Regions from separate parts of the Homo sapiens genome. Here region 2 is linked to region 1. Evidence: promoter capture Hi-C in human tissues and cell types (Jung and others, 2019). All regions are on one chromosome and are shown on one strand. Each heading gives the region's core, a stretch centred on a gene start or on the middle of the fragment in contact. The rest is flanking DNA. Distances are from core to core; before and after follow the strand shown. Region 1 holds the start of AMPH (amphiphysin). Region 2 overlaps AMPH (amphiphysin).

Region 1 (5,664 bases), core at 1,039-3,538:
TGATGTTCGAGGGCAGGAAGCATCTAGCACGGGAGAAAAATGTAGGCTGGGAGGCCAGGCCAGTCTCTCTTTTCACATTTTTCTGCCTGCTTATATTCTAGGCACGCTGGCAGCTGATTAGATGGTGCCCACCCAGATTAAGGGTGGGTCTGCCTTTCTAAGCCCACTGACTCAAATGTTAATCTCCTTCGGCAACACCCTCATAGACATACCCAGGATCAATACTTTGTATCCTTCAATTCAATCAAGTTGACACTCAGTATAACCATTACAGCCCCAAAGGCCCCTGTTTGAGGGAGGTGACTCAAATTCCTGGTTTCTGAGCATAGCCTTTTTCATTGAATGTTGACCAAGTGGTGGATTTTTTTTTATCTCTCTGAAATAAACCTCTGTTTACTTGGAGTGTTATAAGTAGGACTCATCCAAATTTGCTCAGAACTTTCCCACTGTTAGCACTAAGAGTCCTGTGTCCTGGAAATTCCTTAATTCCTAAGGAAACTGGGGCAGATATTTATCCTAGGGAAATAAGAGCCAAGCACATAGACCAGGTGTTCCAGGTACCTACTGTTTTATAATAAAGCATTATAAAAGTGATCGACTCATAAAAACTGTTTTGTTTGCTCACATTCTGCACTCTGGCTGGGATTAGCTGAGTGGTTCTTCTGCTGGTCTTGCTGATGGTTGCTTGTGTGGCTGCAGCCAGCCAGTGAACTGATTGGAGAATGGGCTCAGCTGGGACATCTTGGCTGCTCTCTCTCTCTCTCTCTCTCTCTGCGTAATCTCAGGGCCTCTCCCTTTCTGTATGGCCTCTCCTTGTTATTTTATTTTATTTTATTTTTGCAGCAGGGTAGCTGAATTAGCTGAATTTCCTATATGGTGTCACAGGAATCCCCAGAGGGCAAAACTTGCCTGGTTTCTAGGTTGGGTGGGTGGGGGGGGGACTGGAATTACCATGGCGTCACTTTCACCACATCTTATTGATTAAAGCTGGCCATAGCATCATTCTAGAATCAAGGTGAGGGGACTACAGGGTGACACAAGAGTGAACACCAGGTGGCAGCTCGCTGAGGTCTACCAATGTAACAGTTTCCCCCAGAGGTACAGTAGGATGCTCACCTGGACTCATAGGATTCACTGTGAGTGACCACTTCTGACCTCTGTTTGCAGGGCACCACCTGACTTCTTCTCCTCACACTCTCAGTGAGAATGGAATATGAATAGTTTGACCACTGGTCAGAGCCAACAAGAGCTCTAGGTGTAGGGCAGGTTTATCCCTATTATTCGTACTTCTCCCAAGCATTAATAAGAATAATAGGGATGGTGAGTCCCTGTTAAGGTTGCCAAAAGGTTTCCAAGGAAGCAACAAGTTAGGGGGGACTGGGTCTTCCATGGTTGATGCGAAGCTATAAGGGACTTGACTGTTCCATGCACCATTTCTTGAAGAGTAGTCTATTCTAAGGTTTCTGCCCAGCACAGGAATTTTGGAGATGACCAAAACACATCGCCTGTCTTCCGGAAGCTGACCTTTCTCAACGCGGACCTCCCCGCCCTGCTAACTCTTGTTTTAAAGTTTAAACAAGTGTCAGCGATGGTCTCTCCCCGCTTTGCTCTCCACACGCCTCTCTCCTGCAGCTCTGACTTCGTTGGTTTCCCAGCCAGGGCCCCTCACTGGGCTGTGAGCCTCCTGAGGGTAGGGCGACCTCCATACCTTCTTCTGCAACACCCAGGGTGTATGGAGGGGCCTCTGTTAGCTGGAAACTTTTGGGAGCAGCAAGGGACCAGCCCCATCAGCTCCACTTCAGAGCAGTTCCAATCCAGCTGGCTTCCACATCCCTAGGGTTCTTCCCTTTTTTGTCTCCCCTATTTCTTTTTTTGCTGGAAAGAATCAGGTCCCCTCACTCTCCCCAAATACAAACTGCATTAAAAGAACCCCCGAGCTGCCCCTGGGCCCAGGGACTTCTGCTAGGCTTGGTTCCCTTTCTCCTCTCGAAACTCTTCTATCATCGAGGAGACAATCTGGCTTCTGGCTTTTCCCTCTCTTTTTCTTGGCCTCTTTCTCTTTCTTCCCCCGCCCCTTCTCCCCATGTCACAGCCAGTCCCGACGCATCCCGCCCCCGCTCTGTCGCTTTAAGCTGGTCCCGCCGCCGCGCCCCGCCCTCACCCCTCCGCGCTCCGCGGCTCCCCGCCGCTTCTCCCGCTCCTCCCTTGCTCGGCCCTCTCCTCCTCCTCCCGCTCCTCCTCCCGCTCCTCCGCGCCGCCGCCAGCCCCGCTGCGCGCTCTGCTCTTCGCAGCTCCCCGGACCCGCAGCCATGGCCGACATCAAGACGGGCATCTTCGCCAAGAACGTCCAGAAGCGACTCAACCGCGCGCAGGAAAAGGTCAGCGGCGGGCGGCCGGGGCTGGGGCCGGGGACGCCAGGCGGGGGCTTGGCCGGAGGGCACCGGCTGCAGCTGTGCGGGGCCCGAGCCTCGGGGTGCGGCGCGCTGCGGAGCGGGGCCGGGGCCAGGGACGCTGGGACGCCCTGCCCTCAGCTCGGTGACTGCCGCAAGGCGCGACCCGGGCGCCGCGGGGAGCGGGTCGGGAGGACGCAGCGCCGGGGACCCGCAGACCCTGGCCCCGGAGACGCCGGATATGTCCAGCTCCGGAGCCGGCCCCGGGTTGCCGCTCTCCTGGCCCCAAGCCAGGCAACAGAAGTAGGAGGTGCGGCAGCTTGCCCGCTGCGCCCGGAGCAGAGCGCATCTCCCTGCGCTCGCATCTCCCCGGGCCGGCTCCCAGCGCGCCCGCAGGCAGCTCGCGGGGACGCGGCCCGCAGATCGGGGCGGGAGATTGCAGCAGCCTTCCTTCTTGCGGGGGATTTTGTGGCTACTTAAGTGCAGCAGACACGAACGATTTAACAGAGAAGCCACCAAAAATCTCCCAGGACCAATAGGGTAGGATCGTGATCACACAGTGCTGTCTGGTGAGTTCTGGAGTTCAAAACAGAGATCTAGATATACACACTTTTAATTTTGGTCTATATGTTTGTGTCCCTTTTGACTCCAGTGTCCTTCTTTAGAAGGTCAAAAATAAATATGACCTGAACCTAATAGTTCCTTTCTGCATATTTCTGCACAAAGAAGGACCTTTTATTGCATTTTAAAAAATCCAGATTGCACAAATTGGGTTCTCTGTTGTTTTGCAAGTCCCTCAGTAAATTGCGCACAGTAATTTATTTTTTTTCCCCAGAGACGTGCATGAATGAAACCCAGGTCCGTAGCAAGCACAGCCCAAAGCAGGTGGAGGGGAGTTGTACCAGGCACCAGGCTTGCCTGGCTTCCCTGGTGACTGCTGTATATGACGGCCCTGAGGTCTTCATTTGTGTCCTGAGCAAAGGACATTTCCTTTATATTGTAGCTTGAGCATTGTACTTGAAAATCAACACCGGCTAATGAGCCCCATGATTGGTATCACTTGAACTGTGTTCTCTTTCACGTGGCAGTATTTTCCGTCCCTAGGATATGGGGTGTTTAGCGTTTTCCTGTTTTACTGGAAGTCAGATTTGCCATGTTGCTCAGGATGGCAATGAATTTCCCTCTTCAGACCCAATCTCAATCTCAGGCTGCCTCCCAGTTCCGGCTGACCATGAGTTGCTGAGCAGAGGGGGCACTGATCCCTTTTGTCCCCAGGCCCAGAGGCTTGGTGGCTGCCTCTAGTCCCTCCCTCCACACATGCACACTCTCCATGCAGTAAGAGGATTGTATTTCTTTTAATATCTACCCAAGCTCATCCTGAACTAAAGTGATCCTCCTCCTGCCTCTCCCTCCGCAGCTGAATTAGCAAGGCTGCCTGCTGCCTTCCAGGCCCGGGTTACTTGTGCAGAAAGTAGCCAGGGATCTGCTGGCTTGGGATCTGGGCCAGGTTTTGTCATCCTTTTTCCACACTTCATTTTACCCACTTGTAGGTACTCCTCCTCCTGCCTTCCAAGTAATTACTTGACTCTTCGGTCTGAGGCTTTTCACTGAATCCACTTTCCATCTGTGAAGGAATTTAGTGATATGGTCTGCCTTTTCACATATTGAATTATTTCTTAATCTAGGTCACCAGCTGTTAATATGCTCAAAATAAATGAAAAGAAAACCTAATCTCTTACGGAGCATTCAAGTCCTGTGAATTGTCAAAACTCACTTTTTCACGATCAAGGTCAAGTGTACTTTATGACTGCAGTTGTGGATGGTGGTCAGTCTTCTATGGGAGCGGGGGTGAGAGACCCTCTTGGGGGTTTCAAGCGTCCTATTTTCTTCACTGGGGAAAGGTGCTGATGAAAAGTGCCTGCCGCACCTAGTATAGAGGTTCAAACACTAAGAGGCTGAGAGTATAGGCTCTTCCCCAGGGTGAGTTCTGCCCCCCTTTCTGAGTCTGTGTAGCATCAGGATATGCTTGGCACAAAGAGAAAAGGGCATGTTGGCATCCAGGTAAAGCAGCCCAGCCCAAATGGAGGCTGCTGGAGAAAGGAAAGCACAGTATGTTACTGTCAGAGGCTCCATTAGACATATCCCCACGTGATTCCCTCTTTCTACACCTTTGGCCTCTTCCTCTTCTCCAGAGAAGACTCTTCATCCCAATAACTATAGACCATATATGTCCCTGAGACCCTTTGCTTCTTGTTTTTACAACCAAATTTTCTTAAAAGAGAGTCCACTCCCTTGACTTTCTTATCATCTGTGCTTCACCTAAAAGCTTGCATATGTTTAGGCTCCAACTGCATGTCTGAAATCACTTTTAGAGGTGACATGGCTTTTTAGGAATTTTAAATACGTTTTTTTCTTACTGAAAGTCAGTGAAGATTCATTGGAGAAAGGCTGAAATGTATTAGTCAGCAGAAAAAAACCACAAGGCTGAAATGTACATATAAGCAGAAAAAAACTCCAGCAAATTACGAAGCACATAATTCTACTACTCGGAAATTTTACTACCATTTGATATGTATCTGAGTAGATCTTTTTCCATGTGTGTATGTATTTATACAACCAAAACAGGCTCATTGCTGTATAGTTGAAGACCTGTTTATTTCACTTCATAATTATGAACATCCTTCTATACATGTACATATTTTCCATCAATATTTTAAATTATTGAACACTATTGGAATGTATGGATTATACTGAATGCCTTATCTTTTGAATATTCATTTTTCCAGTGTTTCTATATGGAAATACAAGTCAGTGAGCAAATTTGTAGGGAGAATGTTTGCACACCTCTTTAATTATCTCCTTAGATAAATTCCTAGAAGAAGACTTATTGCATCCAAGGTTTGCCTATTTTTATTATAGCTAGATTGCCTTCCAGAAAGGTGTACCAATTTACATTCTCATCAGCAGTCCATGAGACACTTGCCAACTCTGGATAATAAAATTTAAAACAATGTTTAGCTATGTCATTGGATAAAATTTGTTCATGATTAATTTCATTTGTTTGATTTTTAAAAAGCAAACTTTTGTGCATTCGTGTTTTTGTTCTTGAATTGTGCTTTTATATTTCTGCCCGTTTTCTGTAGCAATTCTGTCTTGTTATTAGTAAGGGCAAAAACTTTATCAAGCCTAAGGGTTACAACCATTCTTTCTTCCTTTTCTATTTACTTTTAAATTGTTTGGTGATTTCTACTGAGAAAATGTTTTTGTTGATGTT
Region 2 (5,664 bases), core at 2,200-4,699, 48 kb after region 1:
AAATAGATCTATCCTGTTGGAGATGAAAGAGAAGACATGTAAAGTGCTTAGCACAGGGTGCAGGATAGCACAGATCATCAATAAATAGTCATGATGAGGATAATGATGAGAAGCAGAACTGGGACCTGTGTCCCCTACTTGGTGTGGCCGAATGTAGACTGTGTGTACCTTTGTGTTTCTGGTTGGAGCCACCTGCTGTCACTTGTACTCTGCATCAGCTCTAGACCCCTCCTTCCATGTCAGACCTTGTATTTTTACATGAATGTGATATATATATATGAGAAAAGATCAGTCTATGTTGCTTAGAGCTAACTCACTAGCAATTGGCCCTTTCATATCTTGATTTGTTGCAAATGTGAGTTACTGTTTAGAGTAGTTTTGAAATTGAGCAGATGCTGTTGAGTTGATATATTCTGTGATTGGTACCACAAGGTAGAAGAATCTATGTTATTATAGAAAATACAAAATTTGAGACACCACTGTAGTTCTGACAGAAGGCTTGTTTTGCTCAGAGAATGCCCTTTTAAAAATTCTGATGAGATTGACATGTGACACAAGAATGGCAGAATGTTGATAAGGGGTTGAAGCTGGGTAAACGGTTTGTGGGGGTTCTTTATACTGTTCTCTTTACTTACGTGTTCGTTGGAAAATTTCCACGATGAAAATTTTCATATTTAAACAAATGCTGGGATGGTTGCCTTCCTGTTGAAATATTTGGAAGTCCAGGCATATTTTAGTTCCATGTCTGGACTTCATGTGGCCATCTTTTAGGTGTAATTTAATGTAGCATGCCATTATTTGTAGGATAAGATTATTTTAAAGGGTGAAAAAGGTGAAAGCTAAATTCAAAAGAAATGTGTGAAAGTTATCTCAGTGCAAAGAGATGAAGCTTAGAAAAAAATCTCTCAGGCTAGCTGCTACTTCACTATCCCCTGGTTTAAGGATTATGTAAATGAAATCTTCTGTGTATCCACAGCTATGCATACATTTATACTTAATGTTCCCATCAGAAGAAGTAATCAGTGCTGAAGCATTATTGAGATTTAGAAATTCTACCATATACCACACTCAAATGGTGAAAAATGTTTCAAAAATAGCCCTTGCTGCATTTAAATAGCCTATTAAGAGTAGACAGGAAAATTCCACTGGCACGGTGGACCGTGAGGCTATTGGACAGATCCATGTATTAAAAGCTTAGGCTAAATTTGGCTCTGTGGTGTGTAAAATAACAGCAGAACCTAGTATAAAGCACTTTTTCTGCATTGTTTCCTCAAAGATCCATATGTGTAAAGGGAATGTATTTTTCTTAAGCCAGGCTTGTGTCGTCAGGACCTGGTACTACAGATGACTTGAGCGCGGCTGTCACCATCAAATGACAGCATCTTCTTACTTTGCAAAAGCCCCTGTGAGTGCCCTAGTTAGCAGAGTTTATGCATCTCCACTCCCCACTAGCTGGGAGCTAGTGGCCAAGTCATATTCCCTACTGTATGTCCTGCCAACTGGAGAAAGGATACTTGTTCCCTTCTTTCTCAGAGTAATGGCTAAGGGCATCCACCTCGAGTCAGACCTGAGTCTGGCACTGCCTCCTAATAGTTTTGAAACACATGGCCTTGTAGATTCTCAGAATCCTCACTGTAAAAATGGAATAATAGTGGTATCTATGCCATGGGGTTCTTGTGAGGGGAAATGAGATACTTCTTACTTAACTGGCACCCCGTAAATAAACAGTTGTGTGAATTGTGATGATGATTATGATGATGAATCATGGACTGAGAAGTCTGAGGGTTGGAACATGTAGCTTGCTGTTTCCCAAGGTTGGAAATTGCCACCTTTCTTGGTTGTCATGGAGAATTCAGAGATGAACTTTGTAATTCTTACTCAGAAGGGATAGGAAATTTTTGTTTAAAGCTTGAAGCACGTGGGAGAAATGTAGACCTGATGGCTATTTGAAATACACATATGCCCTTGCACACTGGATTCAAGCCCGATATTTACATAATGGCCATTTTATTTAGGTAGAAGTTGCAAGATTTCAGCTCCATCTGCTCAGGTCTCTGCTGAGGCAGTGATGGAATCAGGCCGTGTGCCCCGGAGAGTGCAGAGGGAAAATTTCCAGGAAGGCTGATGCCTGGGAATGTTGATTCCCTAGTTCTCTCGTCAGAAACTGGCCTTCCAAATCTCTAGGAGGTTCTTTTCCTTTTCTGCCACATGACGTGATTCATGATCATATGCCAAGAGTGACCTACCAGTTCAGGAATGGCATATCTCTGCAGGGAGCTTTGATTTTTGGCAGAATAACTGCCTTCAGGGGACATCCCCTCATGGACGGCATTGTCAGAAAAGGACGGTGTTAGGTGGTAGTAAATGACTAACCTCACTGCGGCGACATCTCATGAACATGACCACATCTTGAATGATATTCAGGCCTCAAAGCAATGACAGCCATGCAGCAGTGCCACATTTCTTACTAAACGAAACCATATCCTACTAAAACTTCCTACTACCAGGGCTCCTTGCAGAAATAGCTGATTCTAGGTGTGGGTAGGAAATGTATAAGATGCATCTGGAATAGCTTGTTATCCCCTGAAGCAAGGAGGCTGTCAAAGACTACCTGGAGTCACTTCAAAAGGACACAGAGGCCAACATGAAGGTGCTCCCAGTAGCCTGAAATGCTGCAATAAGAGCATGAAAGGACAATGACTAAAATGAATTGAAACAAGTCAAATATATAAAAACAAATGGGCTCTTAATGACCTTATTTTTTTAAAAAAAGAAATGCACATGTAAAAATAAACTGGTTATAAGCAAGTCTTTTCCATGGATTTAGATTGTTGCTAATCAAATTCTAAACCCCGGAAACACATGACCATCCTGTCTCTCTCTAACCCTGTCATTATAGAGCAGAACTCAGTAAGTTCAGAGATGTGTCAATGGCAATGGTAGTAGCAGGGTTCTTTAGGGATATTTTTCAAGAGTTGTTACTCACTGGAAGGAAGATTATAGGACTTGGTGGGTAGTAAGCAGTGCAGGGGCTTCTGGCCCCCCTCACTCTGCCTCCAGGGCACCCAGTGCATGGCTGACACAGCTTTATCCCTCTCTATTGCAGTTTTGTTCAGAATTTGTTTCCCTAGTGGACTGTGAGCTTCCCTGGGGGCAGGGGCTCTGCTTTATTTTCTTTAGTATTCTTATTGTCCACCACAGTGCCTGGCACACAATAGCATTTAGGAAATAAATACCTGATAGAATATGTCTATCCTGTACAGAGGGGTTCATCCTCAAAATGAATGCAGAAGGCTTCACTATGAATGTCTACATGTAAGTATTGTCTCAATAAATCCTTTATTCTCTCTTGCTTTGAACAAGTGTTTTCATATTATTATTTCAAGTTTAAGTATTAAAAGGTGTGTGGCTTGTGCTTAGTTACTGAAATACTAAAAAAAATTCACTATTTATTGAATAGCTACTTTTCGCTAGGCTTTCTATTAGGTTCTTTGTATAGCATATTTTATTTGATTGTCACGAACTTATGAAATCTCTACTTGAAAGATTGAAGAATAAAGTCTCAGAGGTGTCAAGTATGTTGCCAAAGTCACTGAACTAGGAAGTGGGCAAGCCCAGGTCTGTTGATTTCTAAAGTTATCTGTTCTTTTTACTACACAGAGATACAGAAATGTAATCTTGGGCTCTTCATATGTTTTGAGTGAAAGGGAGCTCTGATGCATATTATCCTTGAAAATGAATAAGCGGGATGGTGGTGATTCTTTTAACCTTAATCTTTTATTAAAATAATTCCCTATTCCCATCAGTAATAAACCATGAGATTGTCAATACATTGTTGACTCTTATGTGTGGTGAACCATTCTAAACTAAATTTCCCCTTAGACAAAAATATAATAATGCTAAAGAGAATTTGAATCTATGGACCAAATTGTGCTTGAGTGAAGGATGGTCTTATTCATTTTGACATCCGGCCCTGAATAAATAAGGTTGTTTCAGGCTAGAGCTTTTCAGACAGTCACATATTGCACTGAATAGAATCAGCTTTTGACTAGGACCCTGTGCGTCCCCGATGTGACTTCTGAGGCTAAAGCTTTGCTATAAGTATATGCATGCATGTCTGTCTGTCTACTCAGCCATTCTCAAACTTTTTGATCTCAGGACCTCTTTACAACTCTTAAAAACACCTCCAAAGAATTGTAGTTTATTTTGGTTATATTCATTAGTATTTCCCATATTAGAAATTAAAAACATTTAAAACATAATACACAAGCACACATCTCATTAGCTGTCAGTACAGGATGTCATCTATATGTCATGGAATCTTTGAACAACTCTGCCATAAACTTATGAAAGAATAAGAGTAGTTTTGACTCTGTTGATGCATGGAAAGCTCTTGGGAACCCCTCAGGGGTGCCTGGACATGATCTAATAATTCCTGATCTATATGCTTTTTTATTTCTCCTCTTCTATCTTGAACCCACCCTAGTCAGGCTTTCTACATGACCATGGCACTTAAACTGCTGTCAAGGTCATCAGTGACCTCCACCTTGTTTAATTAAGTGGTCACTTCTCCATCTCTTAGAATTATTTGGCACAATATATCATTTACCCATCCTTGAACTATTTTCTTCATTTGGCTTCCAGGGTACTAGACTCAATTCCTTTTTAGCTGGTTCCTTTTTATCTCTTTGACTTCTTAATGTTGGAGTTTCCCATGGCTCAGGCTTCGGGCTTCTTTTCTTTTTTTAATCTATGTTATTCACTCTGTGGGGACATCATTCAACCTCATGTTTTTATATACCAGGCATGTATTTCCAGCCTCAGCCTCTCTTCTGAACTTGAGATCTGTGTATCCAGCTGCCTACTTGACATCTCTTCTTAGGCATCTAATAGCATCTCAAACTTAGTGCATGAAAAAATGAGCACCCCATCTCCGTCTTCTGCAAACCTCTTCCCCCTATAGTCGTTTTCACCTCAGCAAATCCCATCTTTCAGGTTGCTCAGTCCAGAAACATGGAGTCATTCTCGAGGCCTTCTTTCATGCTTCTCATCTCGTCCATCAGCCAAGCTCATCTGCATCAAATTCTAAAATAGATGTAGAATGCTACCATTTTTACACCTCCACTACTACCAACACCGTAACATCCTGCCTGAGTTACTGCAGAGCCTCTTAACCGTCCCTTGTCCTTTCCTTGCTCCACTAGAATCTCTTCTTCACACAGCCATCAGTCTGTTCCTGTTAAAAGGTGAGTGAGGCTCTATCGTGTCCCAAACATATCAGCAACTTTTCATGTCACTCAGAAAGAAAGCCAAGGTTCTTTAAAAAGGCCCACAAAACCCCATCTGACCTGATCCCTACTTCCATTACCTCTTATAACCCTTCCCTGCCAGTTCCCCTCTACCCACACTGACATCCTTGTGGGACCTCTGGGCTTTTGCACTTACAGTGTCATCGTCCTAGAGTGCCCGTCCCCATTTATCTGGAGGGTTCACTCTGTTGTCGACCTTAGATCATTATTCAAATATCAGCTTCTCAAGTGAGGCCTTCCCTTAATACCCATTTTAAGATTGCAATTCCTCCAACACTCTTTCCCCCCTTTCCTGCTTTATTTTTCTCCCTGGCACTTTTTTTTGCCATTTAATGTATGACGTATTTTAATTATT

What was found. Contacts are between HindIII fragments. The study calls those that stand out against the background at their distance.
Region 2: a fragment that was not itself captured here is called in contact with the fragment with the promoter of AMPH in region 1 in 2 of the 25 tissues and cell types used here (dorsolateral prefrontal cortex and thymus).

The regions. Positions count from the first base shown.
Region 1 is chr7:38,627,997-38,633,660 of GRCh38, reverse strand. AMPH (amphiphysin) reads left to right here and starts at 2,288. Exons shown (of 21, transcript NM_001635.4): 1 at 2,288-2,378. The coding sequence starts at 2,310. The HindIII fragment of the contact is 11,600 bases long and covers 1-5,664 here.
Region 2 is chr7:38,581,179-38,586,842 of GRCh38, reverse strand. All of the region lies in intron 1 of AMPH (amphiphysin), which reads left to right. Among named protein-coding and RNA genes, the nearest start is that of AMPH, 47 kb to the left of the region's middle. The HindIII fragment of the contact is 3,796 bases long and covers 1,552-5,347 here.